Linked DNA regions of Homo sapiens: regions 2, 3, 4, 5 and 6 are each linked to region 1. Evidence: promoter capture Hi-C in 16 types of primary human blood cells and fetal thymus (Javierre and others, 2016). All regions are on one chromosome and are shown on one strand. Each heading gives the region's core, a stretch centred on a gene start or on the middle of the fragment in contact. The rest is flanking DNA. Distances are from core to core; before and after follow the strand shown.

Region 1 (2,589 bases), core at 52-2,551:
TAGATGTAAACCACTCAAGTGTGTGACTGGTGTGTGGTTAGCTTTTGTTTCTATGGCCAGAATATATCATTGCTTGGGCCTGTGAACTTGTATTAATCAATAGAATTTGAATTTTTATTATTATTTTTTGAGACGGAATCTCACTCTGTTGTCCAGGCTGGAGTGCAGTGTCGTGATCTCTTTTCAATGCAACCTCCGTCTCCCGGGTTCAAGCAATTCTCCTGCCTCAGCCTCCTGAGTAGCTAGGATTACATGCACCCACCACACCCGGAAGATTTTTGTATTTTTAGTAGAGATGAGGTTTCACCATGTTGGCCAGGCTGGTCACAAACTCCTGACCTCAAGTGATCTGCTCACCTTAGCCTCCCAAAGTGTTGGGATTACAGGCGGGCAGGCGTGAGCCACTGCGCCTGGCCTGAATTTGAATTTGAAAGAGGAATGAGTGATTGGAGATGGGAGGGTAGGAAAAATAACAGGGGATGCATTTCATGGCAGTGCTGCCTTTACAAAATGTTTCTGGAATTTTGCCAGTAAATTGTCAGAATGTGGTCCTCATTTCTGCCCATGGCTCACTTACGAGCTCTAAGATCCTGACACACAGATTAGGAGTGTAGTACTTTGAGCCATTCACATATCCTTTTAATGAACCCATGGATCTTTGGCTTGCGGGGGTTGAAAACGTGTCATATTTTTACAGCAAGACAGAATATTGTGGCAGAACGCAATCCACCTGTATCCTGGCGGACACCCGAAGAAACATACGGCTTTCTGGCTAGTGCAGGTGCGAACTTTGACTCCATCATTCCCAAACATACCTTTTCCTGAAGCGGGGAGAGACCACAGAAAAGAAAAATCAATCTTAATGAGGCTGGGAGAAATCCTAGGCTTGCCATCACCTCCTGGTTGATGGCTTGTTAGTTGTGATTTACCTCACCTCTTATCACAACTCAGCAAGGCAGATAAAGCTCAGGGTAGCCAGAGGCATTGGAGGGGAGATAGGAATCTGGGTGGCTGCACGATCTGTGTGCACAATGACATCCACCCCCGTCCCCGGTGCACTGGCAGATCTTCCAGCTGCAGCAACAGCAGAGCAGGGCAGGAGCTGGGGTCCGCTCACCATGCCCCTAACATGGTGGCCCATTTGATATTGGTGTCCTGTTGCTGGGCTTATAGTTAGAGGGTTTTTTAAGCATCTCAATCTTTGGGAACACCCACTTTTATGTTCAGACTCACGCCCACTGTCTTACCTGAAGGCAGTAAGATCACCAGGAAAAAGAGTAATGCAGAAAGACAGAGGTTCATGGCCGAAGAGGGCACAGAGTTGGAACTCCCAGTGGTGTCTGCCTGGGAGGCTCCTTTATAGAGCTGGGCTGGGCTGCGATGGGTGGGGCTGGACCCTGGCCTCACTCTTCCTGGAGGGGCAGACTGAGGAGATCACAGGGTTCTGCAGAATTCGAGGAAGAAAAGGCCCTGGCCTTTCAGTGCTACCTCCTTTTCTACAAACCGCGGGAAAACCAGAGACTCAGCTAAGGCTGTCACGTTTCCTGATAGCAGAATAGGAGAAAAGACCAGGATCCCCATGCCTAGGCCTGAGCGCTTTCCCTCTGCCTTCAAATGTACTTTGATATAAACATGGCAGTGAAAATGTCTGCTCTGTCTCTCCTTTCCTCTGGAGCACCACTGAAAGCTCAGGAGCGCAGAGAAAGGGTGTTATGAAACACAGGCTGAATTTAAGCCTGGAAAGACAGTTCCGACACACGGAGTCTCTCAAATTGTCAACCAGTGGCCTGACCAAGAGAAGGTAGGGGCTCAGAACTAGTGGAGAAGGGACAGCTTCCTTGTCTAGCAGCTGACTTATTTACCTGGCTGAAGGCAGATACTGCAAAAAAAAAAAAAAAAAAAAGTCCTGGAAAAGTTCACTGATGGACTTTGTTCTCCAAATGGCTGGTATGAAACGTTGGCTAGGATGAGGGGACTCTGAAGGTTCTAGGAGAGATTTCTTTTTTGGAGTTGAGGAGTTGAAACTCTCCCTTAGAAGAGTCGGTTCAGTGCTGTGTTCAAGGTTGGATGCACAGTGTCCAGAGTGGAGCCAGACAGGGCTTCTCTGGAGTGACAGAGACTCAGCCCTGGAGAAGGGCCCTTAGGCCTGTCTCTCTTGGGGTGATGAGGGATGTCTGAGGGTGAAGATGACACTAACTTTGATTTTGTTCTGACCCTTAAGGCAGGCTTTTACGCAGGCAGCCAACAACCACAGGGCTGTGTGTGGTGTGTCAGTGGAGCATGGTATTCCTGGGTACACTCTGCTTTGCAGGCCTAGACCCTCAGATGCATTATTTAGCATCTCAGCCTCAAGAACTCCTCAAAAAGTGCATTGGAAGGTTATGCGTGGTTTTTTTTCAGGATGAAATGAGATACAGCTTATAAAATGCTTTGCACGCACACTGCCATACAGTAGGTACTCAATATTATTATTATTATTGTTTTTTGAGACAGTCTTGCTCATCACCCAGGCTGGAGTGCAATGGCCCAAACTCGGCTTACTGCAACCTCCATCTCCTGGGTTCGAACGATTCTCCTGCCTCAGCCTCC
Region 2 (2,589 bases), core at 61-2,560, 440 kb before region 1:
AATTATAAGTGGGAGCTGAACGGTGAGAACATATGGACACACAGAGGGGAATAACACACACTGGGGCCTATTGGGGAGCGGGAAGGAGAGCATCAGGAAAAATAGCTAATGGATGCTGGACCGAATACTTAGGTGATGGGTTGATAGGTGCAGCAAACCACCATAGCACACGTTTACATATGTAACAAACCTGCACATTCTGCACACGTACCCCATAACTTAAAATTTAAAATAATAGTAATAATAATAATTAGCCCTAATATAAGGAGTGAAAGTGTAAATCGCCCAGTGGGTTCACCTTGCCCGCTGCCTAGACAAAGCCAATTTATCAAGACAGAGGAATTGCAAAAGAGAAAGAGTAATTCACACAGAGCCAGCTGTGTGGAAGACCGGAGTCTTATTATTACTCAAATCAGCCTCCTTGAGCATTCGGCGATCAGAGTTTTTAAGAATAATTTGGTGGGTGGAGGAAGCCAGTGAGTCGAGAGTGCTGATTGGTTGGGTCAGAGATGAAATCACAGGGAGTCAAAGCTGTCTTCCTGCGCTGAGTCAATTCCTGGGTGGGAGCCACAGATCAGATGAGCTGGTTTCTTGATCTGGGTGGTGCCAGCTGATCCATCAAGTGCCAGGTCTGCAAAATATCTCAAGCGCTGATCTTAGGAGCAGTTTGGGGGGTGGGAGATCAGAATCTTGTAGCCTCCAGCTGCATGACTCCTAAATCATAATTTCTAATCCTGTGGCTAATTTGTTAGTCCTACAAAGGCATCTAGTTCCCAGGAAAGAAGGAGGGTTCTTCTGGAATGCGCTGTTATTGTCTTCATTTTTAACTACAAACTATAAATTAACTTCTTCCCAAAATTAGTTCAGCCTATGCCCAGGAATGACCAAGGACAGCTTGGAGGTTAGAAGCAAGATGCAGTTGGTTAGGTTAGATCTCTTTCACTGTCTCAGTTGTAATTTTGCAGCGGCAGTTTCAAAAGTCCTAGCTTCAGGAGTCCCTGTAGAACTGACCTGAAGCCTCAAGGAATCCAGGTGAATAACCCCAAAAATCAACCAAATATGGGGTCATCAGCAGAAGCTCAAGAACAATGGATGAGGCTGGAATCTAATAACAGGTGTGCTGTAGCTGTTTTGAAACATAATTTTTCTCTCTCCAGTTTATTTTTACTAAAGACAAGACCAATTTATTTGCAAAATAAGCTTGCCTTATTATACTTTGCCTAATTATTTACATAAAGTGCAGCAAGAATAATTATTGGCCATATAGGCTCTTTTTTTCTAACTGGCTTTGCTGGAATTTTTTTCATAAGGAATCTCAGATTAGACCTTTTAAAAGTCTCTTGAGCCCAGCCAAGGATTTATTTGTGCCTGCAGATACTTGTATGAATTGGGTGAATTCCTTTCTTCTTGAGGTCCCAACAAAGCTTGGAGTTCCTGGGCCTGTCAGAAAGTGACATTCTTTATTTGCCACAGGTCGGGAATCCTGTACAGGACAAGGTAGGAGGTCAGTTCCTCCAAGGGGCTTTCATCATCTCTGTAGGTCAGCCTCGATTTCTTAAAGCAGTCTGAAAATATGTCATTTCAGTCAAAGCCTTGGTAAAATAAGCAGTGTCTCCAACTGTGTCTTGCTACAAAAGAAAACACATTCTTATTGAACTTACTCAAGTAACTATATTGCCTTATGTTAAAAATACTCACAAATAATTTCCAAATTCTGGAGAAGGCAGGTAAAGAGAAAGAAATATGCTCTAAATTTTGTTTACAGGAGTATATTTTGCTCAATTGTTAAAAGTTGTAAATAGCTCAGTAGAAGTTTTCTTTACTCTGAAAAACAAAACAAAAAGAATCAGCAACAATTTTAAGTGAAAAGTCGAAAAGATTTTTCCAGTTACTGAATGTTTTGGTTGTTTCCAGCTGGGAGCTAATTAATATGAGTAACAATGCTAAGAACATATATGTCAAGTCTTTCTGTGGTCATATGTTTTTATTTCTCTTTGATAAGCAACAAGAAGTGAAATATCTGGGTCACAGGTTAAGAAGCTCCCAAATTGTTTCCTAAAGTTGTTTCGTTTCACCTTACCATCAGCCTCAGGTGAGCATTCTAGTTTCTCCATATGCTTGCCAACACTTGGTATGATCGGTCATCTAATTTTAGCATCTGGGTGGTTGTGTGGTGGCATTTCACTGTGGTTTTAGTTGCCATTCCCCTAATGACTGACGACACCGAACACCTGTTCATGGGTTTGTGTGCTGCTCAGCTGTCTTCTCTGTTCAACTGTTTGTTAAATTGAATTTTTGGCTTCTTTTATAGAGTTTAAAAGTTAATTATATATTCTCATATAGATACATGTTTTTCAAAAATGTCCTGCCTGTCTCTGATTTAGCTATTTCTTTTCTTAATGGTGTTTTTAAAGTGCAGAAGTTCTTAATTTTGAAAAGTCTAATTTATCAATTTTTCTTGTATACTTTATGATCTTCTATTCTAAGGGAATAATCTATTCTAAGGGAATAGAAGGTCACGTTTGTATGCTTCTGACTCATATTCTTTATATCCTTTGTGACACCAAGGTCACAAAGATTTCCTTCTAG
Region 3 (2,589 bases), core at 28-2,527, 370 kb before region 1:
GCTGAGGCAGGAGAATCGCCTGAACCTGGTAGGTGGAGGTTGCAGTGAGCCAACATCTCTCCACTGCATGCGTGGGTGACAGAGCAAGACTCTGTCTTAAAAAAAAAAAAAAAAAAAAAAAAAAAGGAGATTAGGGTCTGGGTTTCATGGCTCAAGCCTGCAATTCCAGCATTTTGGAAGGCCAAGGCAGGCAGGTCACCTGAGGTCAGGTGTTCGAGACCAGCCTGGCCAACATGGTAAAACCCCATCTCTACTAAAAATACAAAAATTAGCTGTGCATGGTGGTACCTACTCGGGAGGCTGAGGTAGGATAATCGCTTGAACCTGGGAGTTGGAGGTCGCAGTGAGCTGAGATCAAGCCACTACACTCCAGCCTGGGTGACACGGCAAGACTCTGTCTCAAAAATAATAATAATAAAAGAAAAGGAGATTAGGCCACAGAAACACAGAGGGATGACCATGTGAGGACACAGCAAGAATGTGGCCATCCACAAACCCAGGGGAGAGGCCTCAGGAGAAACCAACCCTGCCGGCACCTTGAGCTTGGACTTCTAGCCTCCAGAACAGTGAGAAGATGAACGGCTGGTGTTGAAGCCACCTGGTCTGTGGGACTTTGTCATGGCAGCCTGAGCTGATTAATGCAGGTTTCATGCCAGCTTCAATTCAATTCAAGAAATGCAAATCTCCCAGCCACTGTCCTCTAGGCATTAGGCTGGATAGTGTGGATTCAAAGAGGAAACCCTGGAGGAGGGCGTGCTTGAATACAGGATCTGAAAAGCTGGAGGAGAGAATTCATTTGCACAGGCCTCAGAAGACATACAGAGTGTGGCCTGGTGAATTAGGAGGGACTGTCAAGGAATTCTCCTCAGAGGAGGTGAAATAGGAGCAAATTTCGAAGGCATATTAAGGTTTGGCCCACCAGTCAGGCAGAGAGGGGGGAAGGATCACAGAGCAAAGTGAGCCGTGGGTGCAGAGACTGCCTGTGAAAAGGCACAGCTGCGTGGGTGGAATGGGTGGTGGGAGGCTCAGAACTGCTCCCTCTGCTTGTGCTGCTGTAACAAAATACCATAGATTGGGTAATTTATAAAGAAGAGAAATGGATTCCTCACAGTTCTGGAGGCCGGAAGTCTGAGATGAAGGGGCCGACACTGGTGTCTAGAGAGGGCTGCTCTCTGCTTCCATGGTGGCGCCTTCCTGCTGCGAGCTTACCTGGCGCATGCTCACCTGGCACCTTCTCACCTGGCGGGAGGGGGAAAGGCCTCAGCTGGCCCCGGACTGCCCCTTGATGAGGCATGAATCATTCATAAGGGAGGAGCCCTCACAGCCTCATCACCTCCTGAGGCCCTCACCCCTTTATACTGCCACCGTGGGGATTAACTTTCAGCATGAATTTTGGAGGGGACACATTCAAACGACAGCACTCTCCAAACTTGGTTTCTCCATCTGTAAATGGGATAATAATATCTCAGGCAGTTGGCATAAGGGTCAGCTGAGACAACAGGGAAAGAAGAATGTTTATGGCAAAGCACTCCCAGAGATGACTTCAGATGAAGCCATCACAAGCCTTCTGATTTTTCATTCAACTCACCCACCTCCCACCTGTAACCCTTATTTGGCACAGGAGTCCATCAAACCAGGCCAGGCACAATTGTTTTTTGTTTGTTTGTTTGTTTGTTTTGAGATAGGGTCTCACTCTGTCATCCAGGCCGGAACACAGTGGTGTGGTCAGGGCTCACCACAGCCTTGGACTCGTGGGCTCATGCGATCCTCCCTCCTCGGCCTCCTGAGTAGCTGGGACTACAGGTGCACACCACCACACTCAGCTAATTTTTGTATTTTTTTGTAGAGACAAGGTTCCATGTTACCCAGTTGGTCTCAAATTCCTGGGCTCAAGCAATCTACCGGCCTTGGCCTCCCAAAATGCTGGGATTACATGCGGGAGCCCCCAATGGCCAGCCGGATTGTTTTTAATAAACTTTCTATTTTAGCATAGATTTAGATTTATGGAAAAGCTGCAAAGATAGTACAGAGAGTTCCCACATTCCTCCACGCAGTTTCCATCATTGTTAACATCTTACATTAGTATGTTAAACTTGTCAAATTAATGCACCAATACTATTATTGATACGTTACTACAAACTAAAGTCCATATTTTTTCAGATACTTAGTTGTCACCTAATGCCCTTTTTTTTCTTCCATGACCCTGGAGTATATGTCATCATCATGCCTCCTGAGGCTCCTCTTGGCTGTAACCGTTCTAGCCTGATTTTTGAATTCCAGGACACGGCATTTGCTAAGAAATGTACCTATGTATAGAAGTAGGAATGAGGGAACAGTTGGAGGATTTTTGGAGAAAAGCACATTATTTTTCAGCATTGTATCATTTGGCGAATCAACAACACGTGTTTGTTACAAATGAGACTATCTGTTCGCTGAAGGAGCCCTAAAGAGCCTGTGTTTATGATATTCTCAGTTCACTTTATCCTTTGCACTAAAAAATACTGATTTACATGTGTACATACACATAGACACACGCACACACACGCAATTTTAGAATTCACTCGTGTGATAGCCCCAGTCCTTCCCAAT
Region 4 (2,589 bases), core at 68-2,567, 350 kb before region 1:
ACTTCTGCCTCTTAGGTTCAAGCGATTCTTCTGCCTCAGCCTCCTGAGTAGCTGGGATTACAGGCATGCACCACCATGCCTGACTAATTTTTGTATTTTTAGTAGAGACGGGGGGTTTCACCATATTGCCCAGGCTGGTCTTGAACTCCTGACCTCAAGTGATCTACCCATCTAGGCCTCCCGAAGCGTTGGGATTACAGGCATGAGCCACCATGCCCAGCCGTATGGCATTTCTTGAAAGAAATTTGTGAGCTTTTGTATGGTGGTACTGCCTGGCTGCCAGCAGCTTGCCTCTGGCCATGGCTCCCACTGTCTCTGCCTGTTTACCAGGCTTATTAATGCAATTATTTCTATTATATTAGCACATTTTCCTTCACTATGTTATCCAACTAAGTAGAAAACAAAAATAAAAGCACCGATACTAGTGATGGGAAGGATTAGGTCTCAGGAACTTAATTCAATAGAGACAAGAAGACACAAGTGGCAGATCAGCTTCAAGCTGAAGTGTGTGAATCACCTTGGCTGGTCGATTGTGTTCACCTGTGAAGGAAAATCAGAGGAAAGGCACAAAATCAGAGACCAGCACGATGAGAGGACAAGTACAAAAGGATATCATCAAACATTAAGTTTAAAAGTAAGTTGTAATTGGAGCATTTATAGTATTGTTTTTAGTTCTTAGAGAATAGAATCTCTTTATAATATATAAATCTATTGCCTAGCTTAGCACATTTGAAACTGTCTTAGTGTGTGTGTGTGTGTGTGTGTGTGTGTGTGTGTGTATTTAACTTAATGAATTTGGAGGGAGAACGTGGATAAGACGAGGAGATTGTCAGTCTCCTCGATGCCTGAAAGTGAGCCAGGATCAGCGTCCCACCCAGGCAGCCGCTGAGCCCATGAAAACCCACAGAGAAAGCTGCCAGTCCAGAATGTTCTTAGGATCCTCTGACACCTGTGTATGAGGCCCTGTTCCCTCCTCTTGCTTCCTGGACCATCTGCTTCCCCAGAGGACGGCTCCCGGGGCTGCTTCTGGAGGGGGCTTCTCTTGCTTGTCGAGGCCCCACTCCTGTGCCCAGCCCGGTATCCCTGTTCTCCGTGTCTGCCAGGAAATCGGGGAGTGGTGAGGTCTGACCACAATAGGCAGCCTGGCTTTTCCTACCCTGCCTGGTTCCCATGCCCTCCCTCCCCTATTTCATCCTCTCCCAGACTTCTTGAGGCTCAGGAGAAGACAGAGGGCTCACACACCTCTGGTGAAGTCAATGAAACGCTCACAATATTCCAACTGTGTTCCCCAAGTCACTGGAGCGGAAAGCCTGGGAGCCATCCTCACCGCCCTGGAGCCTCACGTCTGACCTCCAGCCACCTCCTGTCAATTTTCCGTCCAAAGCCCCCGAGAAATCCCCACTGCTGCTGCCCTGGCTCAGACCATCACTGCAGCTCCTCTGGGCTATTTCAACAGCCCCTGCTACTCTTTCAGCCCCAATTTGCCTCTCTCTGCTTCATTCTTCCCACTGTTGCCTAAGGGATCTTTCCGGAATGCCACTCCATCACCTCAAATCCTGATGAAAACACTTCAGGGCTTCTTACTGTCAAGCTCCAGCCTCAGCATTCCCAGCCCACCTGCCTCTCCAGCCTTACTTTCTCCTCTCCTCCCCACCAAGCCCAAGCGGAAGCCACAGGAGGCCATCAGCAAGTTTACCCACAGTGTCTAGAATGCCCCTGCTCCTTGGGGGCGTTCACACCCTTACATGTCAGATCCGCCTTGCTGCTATTCCTCCTCCGTTTCCCCAAGAGGAATTAATTCCTCCTTCCTATGCTTCCACAACACTCGAAAACTATCTATTCTCCCTTTAACACACCTGTGCTGTAGTGATGACTCTCGTCTCTCTTCTTTATGGTAATCTTCTCAAGGAAACACCATCTTCCATCTCCAGCTGCAGGGCCTGGTCCAGCCTTGGCACAGAGTTGGCACTTAGTAAATATCTATTGAATTTATTTAATTAGACTGAAAATATGTAGCCCTTAACTATGTATGGTTTACTATGAAAAAAGTGGTTACATAACTGTTTACGGAGAATCAAAGATATGCTTCTAAATACCAAAACAAAGAGTTTGATTTTAAAATAATGTATCAGCAGCGAGGTGGGGTGCCACACAATCAATGCATGTTCAGCAAACATATGCAGAACTGGAGGGACTCTCCCATAAACAGAGGACTCCCTCTTTATGGGACCATCTGCTAATCCTCATTCCAGACACCTCAACCTTCTCAGTCAGAACAGGAGACAAAATTATTGGCATGGGAAGGAGTGGGAATTAGCATCCCTTCTCTGTGTAATCCAGAAATTAAGGGTAGTAGCAATAGCTATGGTTTCCTAAATATCTTCTGCATGCCAGATGCATCTAATAATTCATATCTAATCTAATATCTAATAATGACCACACACTGTGGTTATAGTAGCCTCTCCTCACTTCTTCTTCTTCTTCTTTTTTTTTTGACATGGATTATCATTCTGTCACCCAGGCTAGAGTGCAGTGGCATGATCTTGGCTCGCTACAAACTCCACCTCCCAGGTTCAAGTGATTCTCATA
Region 5 (2,589 bases), core at 49-2,548, 310 kb before region 1:
GGCTCCAAAGGTTTATTCACGAATAGATCCCAAAGAAATGTCACAGAGAAATAGTGACTTGAAGTCCAAAGAGGAAAAAAAGGGAGGCCGCAGGCACATGATGGATCTGTGCAATAGTCATACGTAAGCCGCCGTGATGTCCACACCACGGAGACCCCGTCTGCTATGCATCACCCATAGCACGGGCAGCCGAACCCCAGGGCTGCCCTGATAAGAGGCCGAAACGGTGGTAAATCATCCCACACCTCCATCCCACACCTCTGGACTCAGTTTCTCCATCTATGAAAGGGAAAATTCTGTCCACTGCCAGGTATTTATCATGAGGATAAATGAACTGCATTGCGCCAAGTGATCTTGGAACAGGAAGGCTGGTGGATTAAATAAAGATTTACAAAGAATTATGTCCAAATGATCCTTATTTATGATGTGCTTGGTGAGGGTAACAGATGAGAACTCGAAGAGACCCTGGGAGAACCTGCTTCCAGTGCCTCTTTTTCCAGATGGAAAAAAAAAAAAAAAAAACAAACACCAAAATTGAGGCCCAGAGAAAAGAAGGAACTTGCCCAAGATAAACTAACCCCTTCCCCACCTCCACCTTCCTTAGCTGGGTAAGGCAGGGCTCAGGAAAGACAAGTTTTGCTACAAGCTGTCCTCAAAGCTACCCTTCTAGCCCTGAAACGGGTGTGCTCAGAAAGAATTTTTAGCAATGCAAAGAAAAATTGTAGTAAAATGTTAAGGAACATAGCAGAATAAAAAAAAAATTGCTCACATCCTATGAACTGCAATAATTGTGTGTGTGGGGGGAAACAGTATTTCAAAACATGAAAATAGTTGTGTTTGGAAGTGGGTTTTATTTTCAAATTTTGTTTCTATTGTTATTGCTTTGTTACTGGTCTGTTACAAATTATTAACATTACATTCTGTTTGTAAAGCTTTTGTTTTCAAGCAATGCAGCAGTGAATAAAATGTTTTAAAAGAAAGAAAGAAAGAAAGAAAAGCACTGCCTTACTCCCACTACCCAACCCCCTAATCTCATTCTCCCAGAGTAACTATTTTTACATTTGCAGGGTCTTTCCAGACCTTTCTTGGATACAAATTTGAACCTAAATGTTTGAATTTCTGTGTTTTGTATGTAAAGGGGATGGTGGTGGTGGTGGTGGTAGTTCCCTGGTACTATTATTCAACAAACAAGAACAAACCGTTCTGTGACCCAAGCCATTCAAGGGAGGCGAATGCACTGTTAGCGCCACCAGGAAAACGTGGCTTGTGAGCTGGGTGAGAACAGAGTTCATTCACCTCCCTCAGGAGAGACTTTACTCCCAGAAAGACTGATTCAGGCCAGCTCCGGGTGGCCTGGCTCCTTCCCCCCCAGCCCACAAGGCCCCCAGGTTTATTGGCCTCATGGACTCAACTAGTACCATTGTAGTCAGAGGTCAGTTTAATGGGAGGTGGCTCTGAGACAGCAGCGAATTGGTGTATTTGAGTGACTTGACAAAAACGAATAATAAGACAAGAATTCTGGAGAGAGTAGGTAGAGCTGACATTATGTCCAATATATTGTAATGTGTGTGGATAATATTCCTGGGAAATTCACCACCCTTCAGACACCATCTTTGTAAAGCATTCACTTATCTTCAACCCTGGGTTGTCCTAGTGTGCTAATCCAAGCTTTGGAACAGGACGCTATCATAATGCCAGTAGCCCTGTGTAGGATCCCACCATTGACACAGCATCCCCATCAACACTTATCCCATCCCTTGATCCCAAAACACTTGGAGCAGGCTCTCCATATTGAGGGTTTCTAGCTTTAGCAGATAAAAATGCAGGATACCCAGTCACAAGTGAATTTCAGATAAACACCCAATTATGTTTCTTAACTAGTTAGTGTTGGTATGAAAGTTAATTTCTTCAGAAACTTCTTTTATAACCAGCTACCGTATAAAACTATCTTATGAGCTGGGGTACCAGCCAGGGACCAGTGAGGAGACAGAAACTATATCAGTATTTTTAACAGATAATATAATAAAAGGAATTGTTAACTAGGCATGGAAAAACCACTAAAGCAGAAAGATAATCCTAACGTATGATGAAGGTAGAGACTGCAGAGGCAGATATTACTTGTAAAGTTGGGCAATCAGAAGAAAAAGGTTGAAATTATTAACATTTAGACACTTGGAGGAGAGGCCCATGGGGCTGGAAACATATGTCTGAGGAGGGGGTGAGTGACAGACAGTACTGGCATCTCTGACAGCATCTTGAAGAGTTTGTTTCTGCAAGAATAAGAAAAACTGGGCTGGGCGTGGTGGCTCATACCTGTAATTCTAGCACTTTGGGAGGTGGAGATGGAGGGAACACTTGAGCTCAGGAGCTCCAGACCAGCCTGGCCAACATGGTGAAACCCCATCTTTACCAAAAATGCAAAAATTAGCTGGGCGTGGTGGCACATGCCTGTAATCTCAGCTACTCAGGAGGCTGAGGCAGGAAAATCAGTTGAAGCTAGGAGGCGGAGGTTACAGTGAGCAAGTATCGTACCACTGCACTCTAGCCTGGGCTACAGAGTGAGATTCCATCTCAAAAAAAAAAAAAAAA
Region 6 (2,589 bases), core at 41-2,540, 260 kb before region 1:
ACATATTAAACTAATTAAGTTTTAAAAAACAGATACATGATATTCATGAATCAACCTGAAAGTAGCATCTTTTTCTTTTTTTTTTAAAGAAGATTCTCTATTTAGTGTTTATGGATGCACAGGAAAACTGCTTTAAGGCATAAGTTGTTTTTTATTAAATTTGTCTTTTACCTATTCTTTTACAATTTTGGGGGTTTTCCTTTATGCTCAAGCTTCCTCAAGATTCTTCAAGGCAGATCAAAACCATCCTCAGTGGCAATCCTGTATTTGGCTTTTGATTTTGCTTATTTCACAGGAGGTTGCTTTACTGAGAGGGGGAAATCTCTACTCCTGGTCTCAGTGCTGGTAGTGGATCTAAATCAGCAATGGGCGGACACCCCAGCCCCACACTACTGTGGCTTCCCCACTTGTGGGCACAAACAGTCACGTACTAGGCAATGGTGACCTCTCCAGGTAGGCAGTTTTCCCTCAGGTTATATTGGAGTTAGAACCTGCCTGAAAACCACTAACCGGCTGCAGCGGTGGGATTGTGTGAAGAACAAGTTACCTTCCTCCAGGGCAAGGTGATTCTTTTAAACAAATTTTAAGACAATTTAGTTGTACTGAATTTAGAGCTGAAGCCAGTTGCAAATGTAGCTGCTTGTGTCTGCATAAGAAAGAGGAAGTATGCTAGTTTTCCTTTCCTTGTTCCAGAAGAGGGCAGTTCTTGCCAACGCGAGCTGCTGCTTTAAGAACTTGAAGCAACTTTTCTGACATCTGAAACTATTTGTCTTTTGGGAACTTATTTGTCCTAGCCTGCCTGCAGAACCAGCTGTTAAGGCTCTGTTGGGAAGGAGTATCGCTCTGCTATATTGACCTCTGGTAGACCATGACATGGCCCCATATGCCATACAACATAAACTGGTTACTAAGAGTAATTTAATGGCTATCTCTAGAGCTACTCTTTTGTTACCTTCTAAAGAAGGCAGGGAAGAAAATATAAATGGGGTTATAATAGGAATAATCTTGAATCTGTTTTAATTTATACAAAATACATTTATAAGTTTTGGCACATTCACGTTTGGATACTGGCTAACAACTTTTTAGCGAGAGTAGCCTGTATCTTGCATGTCATTCCATTGAACAGTAAGGTGGATCCCTGTCAATGAAGAAATCATCTGATGCCAGGGACTTTGAAGTCTTTCTCCAAGAGGTAGATACGATGATCTCTGTTTTGCTGGAAAGAAAGCTGATACCCAGAAAGAGCCTGTAATCTCAGGTCCCCGTGGGTAGTAAACAGCCCTGGTTTGGAACCCAGGTAAGTCCAACCTGCAGGATTGTACTTTCCCCCTTTCCCCACACTTTGTATTTGCCAAATCTGATATGAGGGCACTTGGCTCTTCAGAACCAGAAGCTATGTGTGATTGAAGGGCTCTATTAAACCTTAGGATTTTCCATGACTTGTCGCTCCCATCCGCTTCCTCTCCCCAGGGTAGCTTCTTGTCTGAGTTTCCGTTTGCTTCCCACCAATCACTGTCTCTCTAGGAGCAATGTCGTCCTACGGAATCTTCCGTATCATTCCTCAACTGTAAGCTCTGCAGTTCAGGAATGCAATGTTAGGAATCCCAGTGTTGCACAAACTTCCTTTCTAGCCGTTGGATTCTGGTGTGCAGAGAACTAAAGAGACTTCCCAGGATTCAGACCCTTCCAATGGGAGGATTCTCCTAACTCTAGGGGAACTGTTGGCTGCTTAAGAGCAAAACCATATGGCTCACTCAAAAATCCCTTTCCTAAGAGAAATCTATAACTGACCCTCTGTGTTCCCTTTTCTCTGAAGATTTCAAATATATTTGTGGTAAAAGCAGAGAAAGAAGAGGAGAAAATCATAATAAAAGCACAATAATGATGATTTTAGTAAAGATAAGAATGGGGCATGGATCAAGACAATGACTAAAACCCCAGGCAGGAAAAGCCCCGTGGAATTGGTCTGAACTGAATGTAGCAGCCCATCAGTGGAAGTTTTCTTGTTTCTGGCAGGTGGCCTATGCTTTTATCTATTACTGCTCTGTAATCAGAATTGAGCCACGATATTCAAGTTTCTTATCTGAATGATGGGAATTTGGTTTTCTGGCCTTCTGCATTTTGCAGGAGCCCAAGAATTGACCTGATGTTTTAAAATATATTTTCCCTCCAAAGGAGGAGTAAAATCCAGACAGGTGGGCCATTCTGTGTGTTTAAAGTCATTGAAAAGCCTCTGCAAGTAAAATTTGAGGCTGTCTGTAACCCACATTGAATAGTTACAGATATATTTTATTTTGGAGGATAAAAAATCAAGAAGTTACTACCACAATTTGGTGGGAATTTTGAATTTTGGAGTTTTCCTTTGTACTCAAGCTTCCTCACGATTCTTCCAGGCAGATCAAAGCCATGGGTTTTGGGATCCCCTAATCGCAAATCCAGTTTTGCTTCTTAAAATCTAATCAGTCCTTAAGTTATTTTTTAAATCTTCCTTTCTACTCCCCAGTTGAAATCTCCATTTCTACTTCTAGAAATCCAGTCAAACCTTATCGCCTCCATTTAGAACTGATCGATAGCAACTGGTGAGCAGGT

The links. Contacts are between HindIII fragments. The CHiCAGO score rates a contact against its expected background, and 5 or more counts as called.
Region 2: a fragment that was not itself captured here is called in contact with the fragment with the promoter of DEFB136 in region 1 in 9 of 17 cell types (non-activated CD4 T cells, M2 macrophages, M1 macrophages and 6 more); the score reaches 9.1 in non-activated CD4 T cells.
Region 3: a fragment that was not itself captured here is called in contact with the fragment with the promoter of DEFB136 in region 1 in 7 of 17 cell types (endothelial precursors, activated CD4 T cells, naive CD4 T cells and 4 more); the score reaches 7.7 in endothelial precursors.
Region 4: a contact is called between a fragment that was not itself captured here and the fragment with the promoter of DEFB136 in region 1, in 6 of 17 cell types (activated CD4 T cells, M1 macrophages, M2 macrophages and 3 more). The highest score is 6.0, in activated CD4 T cells.
Region 5: a fragment that was not itself captured here is called in contact with the fragment with the promoter of DEFB136 in region 1 in 4 of 17 cell types (M2 macrophages, endothelial precursors, erythroblasts and 1 more); the score reaches 5.7 in M2 macrophages.
Region 6: a fragment that was not itself captured here is called in contact with the fragment with the promoter of DEFB136 in region 1 in 12 of 17 cell types (naive B cells, neutrophils, M1 macrophages and 9 more); the score reaches 8.6 in naive B cells.

What each region holds. Positions count from the first base shown.
Region 1 is chr8:11,973,298-11,975,886 of GRCh38, forward strand. It overlaps DEFB136 (defensin beta 136), which reads right to left and starts at 1,302. Exons shown (of 2, transcript NM_001033018.2): 1 at 1,248-1,302; 2 at 640-821. The coding sequence starts at 1,302. The coding sequence ends at 640. The HindIII fragment of the contact is 18,049 bases long and covers 1-2,589 here.
Region 2 is chr8:11,528,877-11,531,465 of GRCh38, forward strand. All of the region lies in intron 1 of BLK (BLK proto-oncogene, Src family tyrosine kinase), which reads left to right. Among named protein-coding and RNA genes, the nearest start is that of BLK-AS1, 28 kb to the right of the region's middle. The HindIII fragment of the contact is 224 bases long and covers 1,199-1,422 here.
Region 3 is chr8:11,598,446-11,601,034 of GRCh38, forward strand. No RefSeq gene overlaps it. Among named protein-coding and RNA genes, the nearest start is that of LINC00208, 23 kb to the left of the region's middle. RefSeq lists an enhancer at 993-1,829. The HindIII fragment of the contact is 6,914 bases long and covers 1-2,589 here.
Region 4 is chr8:11,619,646-11,622,234 of GRCh38, forward strand. No RefSeq gene overlaps it. Among named protein-coding and RNA genes, the nearest start is that of LINC00208, 44 kb to the left of the region's middle. RefSeq lists an enhancer at 1,221-1,721. The HindIII fragment of the contact is 4,298 bases long and covers 1-2,589 here.
Region 5 is chr8:11,661,551-11,664,139 of GRCh38, forward strand. No RefSeq gene overlaps it. Among named protein-coding and RNA genes, the nearest start is that of GATA4, 41 kb to the right of the region's middle. The HindIII fragment of the contact is 736 bases long and covers 931-1,666 here.
Region 6 is chr8:11,716,238-11,718,826 of GRCh38, forward strand. All of the region lies in intron 2 of GATA4 (GATA binding protein 4), which reads left to right. Among named protein-coding and RNA genes, the nearest start is that of SNORA99, 12 kb to the left of the region's middle. RefSeq lists an enhancer at 2,551-2,589. The HindIII fragment of the contact is 2,161 bases long and covers 211-2,371 here.